2 separate regions of the Homo sapiens genome follow, and region 2 is linked to region 1. Evidence: promoter capture Hi-C in 16 types of primary human blood cells and fetal thymus (Javierre and others, 2016). All regions are on one chromosome and are shown on one strand. The core of a region is centred on a gene start or on the middle of the fragment in contact, and the rest is flanking DNA. Distances in the headings are between cores, read along the strand shown.

Region 1 (6,490 bases), core at 345-2,844:
GTCCCGTCCCCCCTTGTGGAGTGCATGTTCACTGCAAAGGATCTGCGCTTTCATTACTCTGTTATTTGTCGTTTTGTGAGTTTTGCTCAATTCTTTGTTCAACATGCCAGGAACATGGACTCACAGTCAGGACCTCCCTTCCGGTAGCACACCCAGTAGGGCCTCCAGCCCACCCACAGCGTGGCTCCCACCGCCCCCGGGGTTGCCCACGGCGGGGATCCCACCACCCCTCGGGCCGCCCATGGCAGGGCTCCCACTGCCCACCAGCGCCAAGCCCTTCTGCTCAGGTCGCCTGCTCCTGAGTGGCGGGGACACGGCTCTGGGATCCTATGGCCACAGATCCGTTCCTCACCCCTTTGCTGTAAAATGCGTTTCTTGGTCAGGAACATCGTGTGGGAAATTATAACATCTGAATAAGGCGTTCGGAAAGACTGTGGGCGACAGTGCTGAAGACAGCCCTGGAGTAAGGGATGGTGACAAGTCCCAGACAAGCACCCACCCCAGAGAGAATAGCTCTGCTCTCCCCACCGTAGAAAAGCCCAGTTTTGGCCGGGCGCGGTGGCTCATGTCTGTAATCCCAGCACTTTGAGAAGGCCAAGGCGGGCAGATCACGAGGTCAGGAGTTCGAGACAGCCTGACCAACATGGTGAAACCCTGTCTCTACTAAAAATACAAAAATTAGCCGGGCGTGGTGGCTGGCACCTGTAATCCCAGCTACTCAGGAGGCTGAGGCAGGAGAATCACTTGAACCCGGGAGGTGGATGTTGCAGTGAGCCGAGATCCTGCCATTGTACTCCAGCCTGGGTGACAGAGCGAGACTCTGTCTCAAAAAAAAAAAGAAAAAGAAGAGCCCAGTTTCCATTGGCCGCCACCGTGGCTGCGCCCTGCAGTGACGCTGTGACCAGAGCCACCTCCATGAGAGAAAACGCTTGCTGGGGAGCCCTCGTGTTCTCCCCAGTGCCACTGTGGCCACCCATCCCCAAGCTCTCGCAGGAAGGATGGGGCAGCTGGGAAGGCAGCATATTGTCCATTCTCACATGGAGAGCCCCAGTGCCCGGGATGGTCCTCAGTGAGCATTCACAGGGCGCGGCGTCCTCCAGCCGTGAGCATTGGATAGGCTGATGTACACCTCTGCCCCGACCACCCTGCCACGCCTTTCCACGGGTGCTCCTCCCTCCTTGATGGTCTCGTCAAACAGCGGCCGTCCACGAGTCAGCGTGCATCCATGCCTCTGGCCGTCTCTCCTCCAGTGGAGGCGAGCAACTCACTTAGTGTGGACATCCTGCCTCCCAGGGCATGTCCCTTCCCCAGCACCTTCAGGACCACCCGTGCCTGGGATGTGGGCCCACAAGCTGCCGCAGCCACACAAAAGCCACCCAGACACCGAGGGGCAAGTAGCACCAGTGCATTGGCAGCCTGCAGCTCACCTGCTGAGCGGGTCAGGATGTGACACGGGCGGTCACTGGAAGGCAGAGGGGCCCCCCAGCCTTGAGCCTCCTTCGCGGTAAGTGGTGCAGGGGCAGCCATTTCTCTTTCACTTCTCACTGTCTCCAGAACAGGAGAAATATCCGGAGCTCAGGCCTGTGTGTGTTTGTGAGGCCAGAGGTCAGTGAAGCCTCACAAACTCAGGATGTGCTCCTCCTAACCCTCATGTCTCCTCCTCTTCCTCCTCCTCACCCGTCCCCTCCTCGTTCCTCCCACTGGGATATCAGAGTCAGAGAGCTACAGGGGTAGAAGGGATGTGGGGGTCACACGGGCGTCCGCTCGAGCCCTGCCTGGGCGCTGGAGGAGGGCCTGGCCATGTTTTCTTTCCTAGAAACTCTCATTTGATCCTCCGAAGGGAGAGAAGGGACGGGAAGGAACAGAGGCCTTGGGTGTCGGCCTAATTCAGTCCCAAGGCCACCCCCACCTGCCATCCTTGGGGCCACTGGTGACTCCACATTGCAGAGCAGCTGCTGGCTGAGGCTGGGCTTGGCGGTGCTCACGTGCCTGGGGTGTGAAAGCTGCACGCAGCCCTCATCTGGCCAGGTCCCCGGCTCCGACTCACACCGTGCTTGGCCAGTGTTTAACTCACACAGCGTGATGCTCTCCACTTCATGCCTGGGGACGGACGTCACTCCTATTCCATGTCTTGTCTTTCCACAGGACTCACGTACGGACTCACATGGCTTTGTGTGCAAAAGACGACTACACGGTCGTAAACGAGGCGGCCCACCCCAGCTCTCCCTCAGGTGAGGCTCAGCTGGGGGCAGACCAGGCCAGCCACGTCCTGCAGGGCGAGAGGCACCCGGCCCGCTGGAGTCCCACGCAGCCCTGACATGCCCAGGACCCTGCTCACCCCACACCCTCGCTCGGGCACCCACCCCCTGCCTGCAGTGGGGGCTTTCCCTGGGGCCTCAAGACTGCAGGAGAGGCAGGCGGGGCCTGTGGGGTTGTGTTTCTTCTCTCCAGAGTTCCTGAGTCCGGAGCACATAGGCAGAAGGAGCTGCTCCCCATGTTCCCAGGGCTGCTCCTGCAGGGGCTCAGGAGTGGGGACCGGGGGGTTTTGTCAGAGCAAGTCCCCAGGGGCCAGGCCCAGTCATCTCGCTCCAGGCAGCCTGGGCCTGGGGCCCTGACCACTTGCCCCGCACGACTCAGGGCCCCCTCCGCACCTGGACACGGGCCCCACAGGCCACGCTCAGGCCACCCCAGGGTCAGGAACACAAGGCTACGCTGGGAAGTGCCAGCGTCTCGCACATAGAATTGGTGTTGCTTCTCTCTTCTCAATATCCACCCCGAATACCCCATTTTCCACATTTCCTATATTAAACTGTATTATTTTGTAGTTAGAAAAAAGTTTTATTTCTAAAGATGGCAGCTTCTGTCTCTGTACCCGTGGAGTTAGAATCAGGAAGAGAATGTGGCTCCCGTCGCGTGGCACCTGTGGTCAGGGTGGGGGCACCCAGCTATAAGCCACATCATTCGTGTTCAGTCCCTGTCAGTTTCATGAGAAGTGGCAGCCGAGAGGGCAGCCCGGGAGGTGCCACCCGAGCTGACGGTGACACCACGGTGATGCCTGGCTGAGCTCAGGGCGGCAGCACACCCCTCCTCGGGACCGCCTGTGTGGGTGTCCCCTGTAAGGTGGCATTGCCTGGGCCCCCGCCAGGCCACAGTTTTCCAAAGACTCCAGGGCTTGGCTGCTGCATCCAGCTGCAAAGAGGCCTGCTGGGAAAAGAGCTGATGCCACAGGGAAGAAACGCGACCCCCACGGGCCCTGCTGGCCTCTCCAAGGCCCCGACCACTGGACGCAGAGGAAGCCGGCCTTGCGTCAGGGTGAGATGGATGGAGACGGCCACGGGCAGTGCTGCCCCCAGCGGGGCGCGCCTCACCCTGGACTGTGGGGTCCTCTCCACAGGCAGCGCTGCCCCCAGCGGGGCGCGCCTCACCCTGGACTGTGGGGTCCTCTCCAGAGCCGCCCATCTGGTCCTGAGACTTGGCCCAAGGCTTTGGGTCCACAGCCTGGCTCTAAGGAAAGCCTGTGCCAGGCCTTGGGGAACCCATTGCCGAGCAGTCACAGAAAGCTCCCGGGGTCCCCGGGGCCCATCTCAGTGAAGCCTGAGGCGGGGGATGGGGGTGGGGAGCAGGGCCCTTCCCGCTGGAGCCTGGAGCCTGTGCCTCTGGGTCCCCTGTGGGGTGGGGGCCTCATAGCCATGCTCCCAGGGTGGGATGCAGCGCCCTCCCCGCTGGAGCCTGGAGCCTGTGCCTCTGAGGCCCCTGTGGGGTGGGGGCCTCACAGCCATGCATCCAGGTGCCTGGTTCTTCCCCCATGGAGCTTGTCATAGGTACGGCTGGTGTGCCAGAGTCTGAGGCCCTCTGTCCCGAGAGCCGTCGTTCTCCAGGCTCTAGGTACCAGACCTCCATCTGTGACTCCCCCAGGCGCCCACACTTTCCTGGCTCTCCTCCGCCCCCGACCCCATCTGCTGGGGCCCTGGCAGCCCTTCCACGTCTGCTCCTCCTTCCTCCTCCCCACAGAAGCCCTAGGGATGGTCCCAAAGCCAGGCCGAGTGTGTGACACCGTCTCCAGCTCCCACGTGCTCAGGGTCGGGGCGGGCTCAGCGGGGTGTCTGGCTGCTGCCTCTCACCCCTTCCCTCCTTCGGAAACACGGCACTGGGCCTGACATCCACCATACGGGACAGTGGCTGGGCTTCTCTGGCCAGACCGAGGGGCCGCCCCTGCTGGCACTACGGGAGGTCACCCTGCAACACCCCGGATGCAGGGAGGATGCCCCCAAAGGAGCCCCCTTCTCCTTCTGAGGCTTCTGAGGAGCCCGGGGCTCAGCGCAGCTATAACCCCTTAGAATCCCCCGCTCCTCGGAGCCCCTGCCACCTCCCCGGGCTTTTCCCAAACACTGCCTGCTCATGGTGGGCTCTGGGACCTTCTGGAAAAGAGGTAGCCCTTGTCTTTTCAGTGCTTCAGAGGCCGTGCTAGTTCTTTGCCAACACACGGGCAGGAAGAGTTGAGTGGCGTCCAAGGGCCGGAAAAGCCGAGCCCCTCCCCAGTCCTGGCCTTGAAGGCTGCTCTGTTCCTGAGCTGGGCACAGAAGCTGCAGTGACTCAGGGTCCACCGTGGGGTCGGGCCTCACCCTGGGCCCAGGTGAGCCAGAAGGGACAGCGCTTTGAGGGCTGACCTCACGCAGGTCCCCGGGCCAGGGAGAGGCCGCACCTGCGCCTGGGTGGTGGAGGGGAAGGGAGGAGGGGCTGCTCCCACTCTGAGCAGGCTCTGGAGGAGGATCAGGACAGGCCCTAAGGCGCTGTTTCTCCCCCACCCCATGGCCTTGGGAGAGGGTCTGCCCCACTCCCTCTTCTCTCCCATGACCTCTGACCCTCAGCCCCTCCTTCCTTTGGGCCATGCTGGCTAGTAGGCTCCTCCCATGTCCACAGCGGTGGCTCCGCGCTGCCCCTTGGACTTCCCCGAAGTGACCCTGACCCCTGGACCTTGGCCACCCCTCCCAGGCCACACCCCGACCTGGTCCCTCCAAGTGTCCACCAAACCCTGGAAGGGAAACACTGCACGCCTGTGCCCTGGGGGCCGGGGTCTGCCCAGAATGCCTTCTCTTCCTTGCTCCTTTCACTAAATGTTCTTTTCTTTTCTTTTTATTTATTTATTTATTTATTTTTGAGACAGAGTCTCGCTGTGTCGCCAGGCTGGAGTGCAGTGGCGCAATCTCAGCTCACTGCAACCTCCGCCTCCTGGGTCCAAGTGATTCTCCTGCCTCAGCCTCCCTAAGAGGAGCTGGGACTACAGGCGTGCGCCACCACATGCAGCTAGCTTTTGTGTCTTTAGTAGAGACGGGGTTTCACCATGTTGGCCAGGATGGTCTCGATCTCTTGACCTTGTGATCCACCCGCCTCAGCCCCCGAAAGTGCTGGGATTACAGGTGTGAGCCACTGCGCCTGGCCTGAATGTTCTTTTCAGGACCACTCAGGCCTCCAGCCCCAGGCGCCCAAGAGGTTTACCTGTTTCCCACCCAGGAGCCCCCACCCTGCGTGTCCTCTGACAGCTGTGGGGACCTCACTTCAAACGGGCTTCAAGGGAGGCCCCAGCACTGTGTCTTACCTCAGGCTGAGGTCTTACCTCAGCCTCAGGTCTTACCTCAGCCTCCCTCCCGGCCCGTCCATCTCAGGTCCCCTCAGCGCCCCCGGCAGATGTGCCTGAGAACCTTGCTGAAGGGGTGCCAGGGTCGGGGACTCCGGGACTCACAGCCAGAAGAACTCTCCCTGCACCCCGCTGCCCCGAGGAAGGGCGTCCAAGCCCTGCCTCTCCCAAGGCCCACCTCTCAGGGGCAGCGGATCGGAATGGGGCACCCACCCGGGGAGGCCCTGTGCTCCCGATTAGATTATCAACACCACACAGTTCACCTTTGCTCGGCTGCGCTGCTGTTGGTTGAGGAAAAGCAAAGAGGAGTTACATTTTAACATTTGTGATAGCGCAGCTAGCAGCTCGCAGCTCCTGCAGACAGCTGCTGGGGGGAGGGTGCCCAGGGAGTCCACGCTGGCTCCAATAAACCCGGCTCCCAGAGACGTGTGTCCTGTCGCCAGGCCTGCTCGCCCCAGAGAGGCTGTGGGGCACAGTGAGAAACGTCTCCGGCGTGATTGCTATTGGTGAACTGTGAGTTTCGTTCACCTGCTAAAAATGTTCCCCCAAACAATGTTTCCTTGGAAGCACTTCCATTTCAAAATACAGCTGCAAAGTGCCTTGCTTGGCCCGTGAAGGTCAATGAGCCCGCAGAAGGGGCAGAGACAAAAGGGTTTTTAATAACGCTCCTTGCTGTCAGCAGCAGCACAGGCTCTGTAGACAAGTCAGGCTTTGTTCCCGGCAGTCCGCTGTCATTACATGGGGCAGCTCCATAAAGATACCAAGGCCAGCTCTGAGGCCAGGGTGCAGACTCCAGATGCACAGATGCTGGGCCGGGGATGCCCCTCACCTGGACAGGAGGACAAAATCCCCAGG
Region 2 (6,260 bases), core at 645-3,144, 240 kb after region 1:
TCGTTATCATAATAAAGGGCAAAAAGAATGAAGAAAAGGCATAAATGCGGCACCGAGTAAATTTCACTGCTCTGCATTTATTTGCAGATGTTCCCTTTCTCCCGCTTTGACTGAATTTTTTTTCCTAGTGGAAAGAACATGGGCTTAGGAGGCCCACCTCTGAGCTGTGGCTCCAGCCCCGACCCTGGCTTTCTGTTGCAAGCATGGAGTGGGCCCTTTCAGGTCTCTGAGCGTGTTCCTACCTGCGGTGCGAGGGTCCTAGTGCCCCACTCTGTGAGACTCAGGTGCGGTCAAGGCTGCCCCCGCTTGGTGCTTGTCGCTCCCCGCCTTCACTGAGCCTCAACACCCAGGCAGAGATCAGTCAGCAACAACACCCACACGGGACAGGGGCTTTTCTGAGCACAATCATTCCTCACAAATGTAGTGCCCCCACCCCACCCCCGGAGAAGACAGTCCAGAGGAAGCAAGGATGGGGACGCAGCATGGGAGCCCACCCAACCCAGGCCCGTGTCTGGAGCGAAAGGGCCTCCTCCACATCCATGTGGCAGAGCAGGCCGGGAGGCAGGCGGGGGCTCTGCTGGCTGACAGAGACCGAGAAGCCTTGGGACTCCCTGGAGCTCTCGGTTGGCCCAAGTTAGGGCTGCCAACGCCACAGCTTTCCACTGCAAGCACCGGAGCCAGGCACGTGGCCCCAAGTGCCTGGGCCCACTCTCAGCCCCTGCATCTGTGCCCGTCCTGCCGGCTCCATCCTGCCTGGCACACTTCTTGCTGTGGCCAAGGCCTCCCCCCACCACTCACCTGTGCCTGCCCGAGACCTGGACCCCTCCCCACCCTCTCGGAGACAACTCCAGGCGTGCAGGGACACTCAGCGTCATGCGTCGGCCTGGGGAGCGGGCAGGGACACCCTGTGCTGGAGGCCCCAGGGATCTCCCGGCTGCTCTGTGGCCAAGCTGATGTTTGCGGCATCCCAGCCTGCCTCCAGGTGTTGCTGGAACAGCTCATTCCTCCCCTTCCCTGAGCTGCATGTTCCCACACCGCGTGGCAAGCAAACATCTAGAGGGCCCTCAGTGACAGCATCTACGCCAGACCCTGGTGGGGCAGCCTCATGTGGCATCTGCAGGGAGCAGTCGAGGGACTGAGGCACCAACTATGCTGCTCAGCTGCATTTGGGCTTGAGGTTCCCCAGCCCAGGGTGGAGGCCCCGAGAGGCACAAGGCAGGAAAGGCACTGGGTGGGGGGGCCTGGAGGGGCAGGGCGGAGAAGGCACTGGGTGGGGGGCCGGGAGGGGCAGGGCGGGGAAGGCGCTGGGTGGGGGGCCTGGAGGGTCAGGGCGGGGAAGGCGCTGGGTGGGGGCAGGTCTGTACTGGGATGTGTACCACCATCCTTCAAGAGTGAGGCAGCAACTCTCACTGAAGTCGCTCAGGGCCCATGCGTCTCCTTCCTCTTTCACAAGGAAAAAGGCTTTGCTGAGAGCTCGGCGCTGGTGCTACACGGAGCAGGCCCAGGTGCAGCAGGAGGGGCTCACCGTCCTTGGCCACGTCCCCGATGGGCACACTGTGCTTCTGTGCCATGTACCCCAGGAAGGAGAAGACGACGAAGCCGGAGGAGAAGCTCGTCAGGGAGTTGATGGAGGTGGTGACAATCGCGTCCCTGTAAGAACAAGACACGCCGTCTCAGGAACCAGCTGAGCTGCAGCAGCTGCAATTTTCCAGTCATTATTCTTAATTTACTGTGTCTGGGGAAGGGGGCGGGAGGTCTTCGGAGGGGCTACTTTTCCCAGTGAGCACGGCCAGCTCCTTAGCAGCCTGGCAGAGCTGTCCTTGGGCCACCTTGGTCCCCTAGCTGAGCTGCTCAAGGCTCAGCCATCAAGGCTCAGGGTGGGCAGAACAGACGGCCACCCCTGTGCCCCGCGAGTCTTGCTGTGGACACCTCACCCAGGGCAGATCTTCCAGAAGCTCTAGGAGCACACACCTCCCGGGGACCTCGCTAAGATGCAGATCCTGACTGGGCGGGTCTCATGGGGTCTCGGGGGCTGTGTTTCCCATGAACTCCCAAGGGCGCTGGTGCTGCGGGCCTGGGGGCCCCACTCTGAGGGCTGAGAAACCAGAGAGCTGGAGGCAAGCCGAGGACGAAGAGGGAGGGTCCTGGGGTCGGTCAGGGCACCAGCGTCCTCCTCCTGGGTTCCTGTGTGGCCTGTCACTGGGGTGGAAGGACCACACACTTCATCTGCAGAGCACCTGGACCCAGGTGGACGCAGGTGGGCTGCGGGCAGGCGCTGCCTCAGGACCTGCCTTCCAGCGCCCACTCTCAGTGAAGCCTGCTTGTGGTCTGCCTGGCCATTCTGCTGCACACACTGTCCTTGTATTTTTACCGTGTTTCTAGCCTCATGATGTGAAAGAAAGTAAGCACAAGTCCATAAAGGTCAAAGCAAGCAGATCCCGGATAAAATTCTGTTTCTGTTTTTAGAAGGATTTGGGGTCCGGCACGGGGCTTCAGGTGCCTGCCAGTAAGTAACACGGGGTGCATATGGGATGGGGGGACACACTCAGGGGGTTGTGAAGCTGGACCCTGAGCGAGGGAGGACAGAGACCCCCCGGGGCTGGTGTGAGGGAAGAGGGTGTGTCCTTGTGGAGGGAGGGGCTGGCCTTGCCACTTGGGGCCCTCAGTGGGGAATCTGGCCGCAGGTCAAACCTAGGCAGGTCCCTCCCAGGAGGCGACACACCCACTGGCTTCAGTGCCTTCTTTAAAGTTGAAATCAAAATCGTGTTGGGAGCTGCCTCGCTGTCGCTTCTGTCTGAAAGGCCACGCAGCTCACAGGTTTGCGGGTTCAGTGGATCCGCCCTGTTCTCATCCAGGGACACCCTATTTCTGGAAGTCAGCGACCTCTCCCTAGTATTGATGAGGCCCCTGCCTGGCCCTGCTAGGGGCTCACCTGTAGCAGTTGTTGGTGAACTTGTTGTAGCTGGAGAAGGCGATCAGCACCCCGAACCCCACGCCCAGGGAGAAGCACACCTGGGTGGCCGCGTCAATCCAAACCTGCAGAGCCAGAGGGCGGTGAGAGGCTGTCCCAGGAGAACGCAGGCCACAGGCAAAGGACCTGAGCACCCTTCCTGTCCCAGCCCCACACTGAGGCCTCTAAACTCAACACCATCCTCAAGAAGTAAATGGCAGCAGACGACTGGTGGAAGATGCAGCCTCAGGAAGTGAACCCTCCCGGGCCAGCGGCCTGGAAGAGCCTGAGAAGCAGGGGGCTGTCTGTGTTCATTGATCTGGGATTCCCCATGGAGTATCAAGGCAGCGATTCCACAGAACCAGAGGTGCCCTGCTCCATAGCCCTCAGAACAGCATGGACTCATCCACACACGGCATGACCACAGCATCCTAATAACCCTCGGAACAGCACGGCCTCATCTACACAAAACATGACCACAGTGTCCTAATAACCCTTAGAACAGCACGGACTCACCCACACACAGCATGACCTCAGCGTCCTAATAGCCCTCAGAACAGCACGGACTCATCCACACACGGCATGACCGCAGCGTCCTAATAGCCCTCGGAACAGCACGGACTCATCCACACACAACATGACCGCAGCGTCCTAATAGCCCTCAGAAGAGCACGGACTCATCCACACACAACATGACCGCAGCGTCCTAATAGCCCTCGGAACAGCACGGCCTCATCCACACATGACATGACCGCAGCGTCCTAACAACCCTCGGAACAGCACAGATTCATCCACATGCTGCATAATGGTGGCACCCTGATAACCCTCAGAAAGTCATGAACTCATCCACACACAACATGACCGCGGCGCCCTGATAACCCTCAGAACAGCATGGACTTATCCACACTCACACCAGCCCTAGCGGGGTCTCCATCCTCCCTTGATCAGGGTCCAGCTTCACAACCCCCTGAGTGTGTCCCCCCATCCCATGTGCGCCCTGCTGCATGATGGCAGTGCCCTGAAACCCTCAGAACAGCACAGACTCAACCACAGGCTACATGATGGCGGCTTCCTGATAACCCTCAGAACATCATGGATCATCCACAAGCTGCATGATGGCGGCACCCTGATAACCCTCAGAACAACATAAACTCATCCTGAGGCTACATGATGGTGGCGCCCTGACAACCCTCAGAACAGCATGGATCATCCACATGCTGCATGATGGCAGCACCCTGATAACCCTCAGAAAGGCATGGACCCATCCACATGCTACATGATGATGGTGTCCTGATTGGACGCACACCAGCAATGCCTGCTTTGTATCCTTCCCAAAACATGAGCAGTACAGGTGCACAGTGGCACCTGGGCATGGCCAGGAGCCCACCTGCAGCTTAGACACTGGTGCTGTGCCTGCCCAACTCGGTGGATGGCACCCACAACTCTGGACGTGAAAGGAAAGGTGGGTGGGTCCACGATTGGACCATTGTGGTATTTTAAAAAGTCAGCCACAACCTGCTAAGGTGAGGGCACTGCGGAGACCATTCAGTGACTCAGATGCCCACCTTGCCCTTCCCTGGGCCTTGGATGGGGGAGAAGGAGCAGCCAACCCCCCCTTGGAGGCATTTGAGGGACTGGTCAGTTAGGGCTGTTCCTGCAAGTCCCTGGAGCCCATGGTACAGGCCTGTGGGCCAGGATGCTGAGGCAGAGACACCAGATGCTCCTGCTGGGGAGGCCAGGTGGGTCTCAGGGCATCCCAGGTCCCAGGTCAAGCTTGCCTGAGCTTGACTGAGCAAGGGAACTGGGTGCTGCAGAGGGGGCGGGGCCCTCTGTCCTTTGGGCAGCATGTCAGAGCCTCAAGGCAACCCCAGTTCCTGGGACAGTGTGTTTGGAGGCAGATGGCCAGGCCCCGCAGTCAGGACTCTGCAGGTGGCCAGTGTTTCAGCATGAGGGGAGGAGCCAAGCCGAGAGTGGCTGGGTGGGCAGTGGGTGGAGAGGCTCATACCCTGATGTGGCTCCCATGCTGGTCATCAGCCACCTGCCTGGCCAGGTAGCTGCAGGCTGGATCAGGTGTCACAGGGGAGCGCCTGCCTCCTCCTCACCCTGATCTGTGTGTGCAGCTCAGGCCTCTGCCCAGTGCCACACCAGAGCCAGTGCCCATGGCTGCCTCCCTGGGCCTCACCTCATGCACTTTCACTCCAGGACCTGCAATTGTCCTTTCCTTCCATTTCTTTCCTGATTTCTCTTCACTATACATCAATCCATCATCTATTATCTATCAATCAATCATCTATCTATCTATCATCTATCACTGTCATCTATCAATCCATCACCAATCTATCATCTATCTGTCATCTCTATAATCTATCAACTGTCTATCATCTATGAATATATGAAGTACATGTGTGTGTATGTATCTATCTCCATCCATCCTATTGTATATCCATCCTATCTACCTACCTATCATCCATCCATCCACCCATCCATCATCCATCCATCCACCCATCCATCATCGATCCATCCATCCATGCTATCCAGCTACCTATCATTCATCCATCCACCCATCTGTCCATCATCCACCAATCCACCCATCATCCATCCATCCATCCATCCACCCACCCATCCATCATCCATCCATCCATCCATGCTGTCCAGCTACCTACCTATCATTCATCCATCCACCCAAACATCCATCATCCAGCAATCCACCCATCATCCATCCACCCACCCGTCATCCATCCATTATCCATCCATCCATCCATCCTATCTAGCTACCTACCTATCATTCATCCACCCATTCACCCATCCATCATCCATTCATCATCCATCCATCCATCCATCCATGCTATCCAGCTACCTACCTATCATTCATCCATCCACCCAGCCATCCATCATCCAGCAATCCACCCATCATCCATCCACCCATCCATCCCATCCATCATCCATCCATTATCCATCTGTCCATCCTATCTAGCTACCTATCATTCATCCACCCATTCACCCATGCATCATCCATTCATCCATCCATCCATCCATCCATCATCCATCCATCCATACTATCCAGCTACCTACCTATCATCCATTCCTCCATCCACCCATCCATTATCCATACATCCAGCCAGCCAGCCTTCCATCCACCCATCCTATCTATCCATTCTATCTACCCACCTATCATCCATCCATCCTATCCACCTACTTACCTAGCATTCATCCATCCATCCATCCATCCATCCATCCATCCATCCATCCATCCAATCTATTCACTGTCTCCACCTAATTTCTGACATCTCATCTTTGTAATTTGTTCTCC

Evidence for each region. The method cuts DNA at HindIII sites, captures the fragments that hold promoters and counts their contacts. A CHiCAGO score of 5 or more calls a contact.
Region 2: a fragment that was not itself captured here is called in contact with the fragment with the promoter of TERLR1 in region 1 in 2 of 17 cell types (non-activated CD4 T cells and total CD4 T cells); the score reaches 5.4 in non-activated CD4 T cells.

What each region holds. Positions count from the first base shown.
Region 1 is chr5:1,177,011-1,183,500 of GRCh38, forward strand. TERLR1 (TERT regulating lncRNA 1) reads right to left here and starts at 1,595. Exons shown (of 5, transcript NR_109911.1): 1 at 1,428-1,595. LOC124900189 reads right to left here and starts at 5,837. Exons shown (of 8, transcript XM_047417960.1): 1 at 5,633-5,837; 2 at 2,364-3,201; 3 at 1,428-2,269; 4 at 1,038-1,244. The coding sequence starts at 2,796. The coding sequence ends at 1,749. The HindIII fragment of the contact is 15,637 bases long and covers 1-6,490 here.
Region 2 is chr5:1,413,166-1,419,425 of GRCh38, forward strand. SLC6A3 (solute carrier family 6 member 3) reads right to left here. Exons shown (of 15, transcript NM_001044.5): 7 at 2,933-3,036; 8 at 1,526-1,650. Among named protein-coding and RNA genes, the nearest start is that of SLC6A3, 29 kb to the right of the region's middle. RefSeq lists enhancers at 1,602-2,574, 2,575-3,547. The HindIII fragment of the contact is 5,653 bases long and covers 1-4,721 here.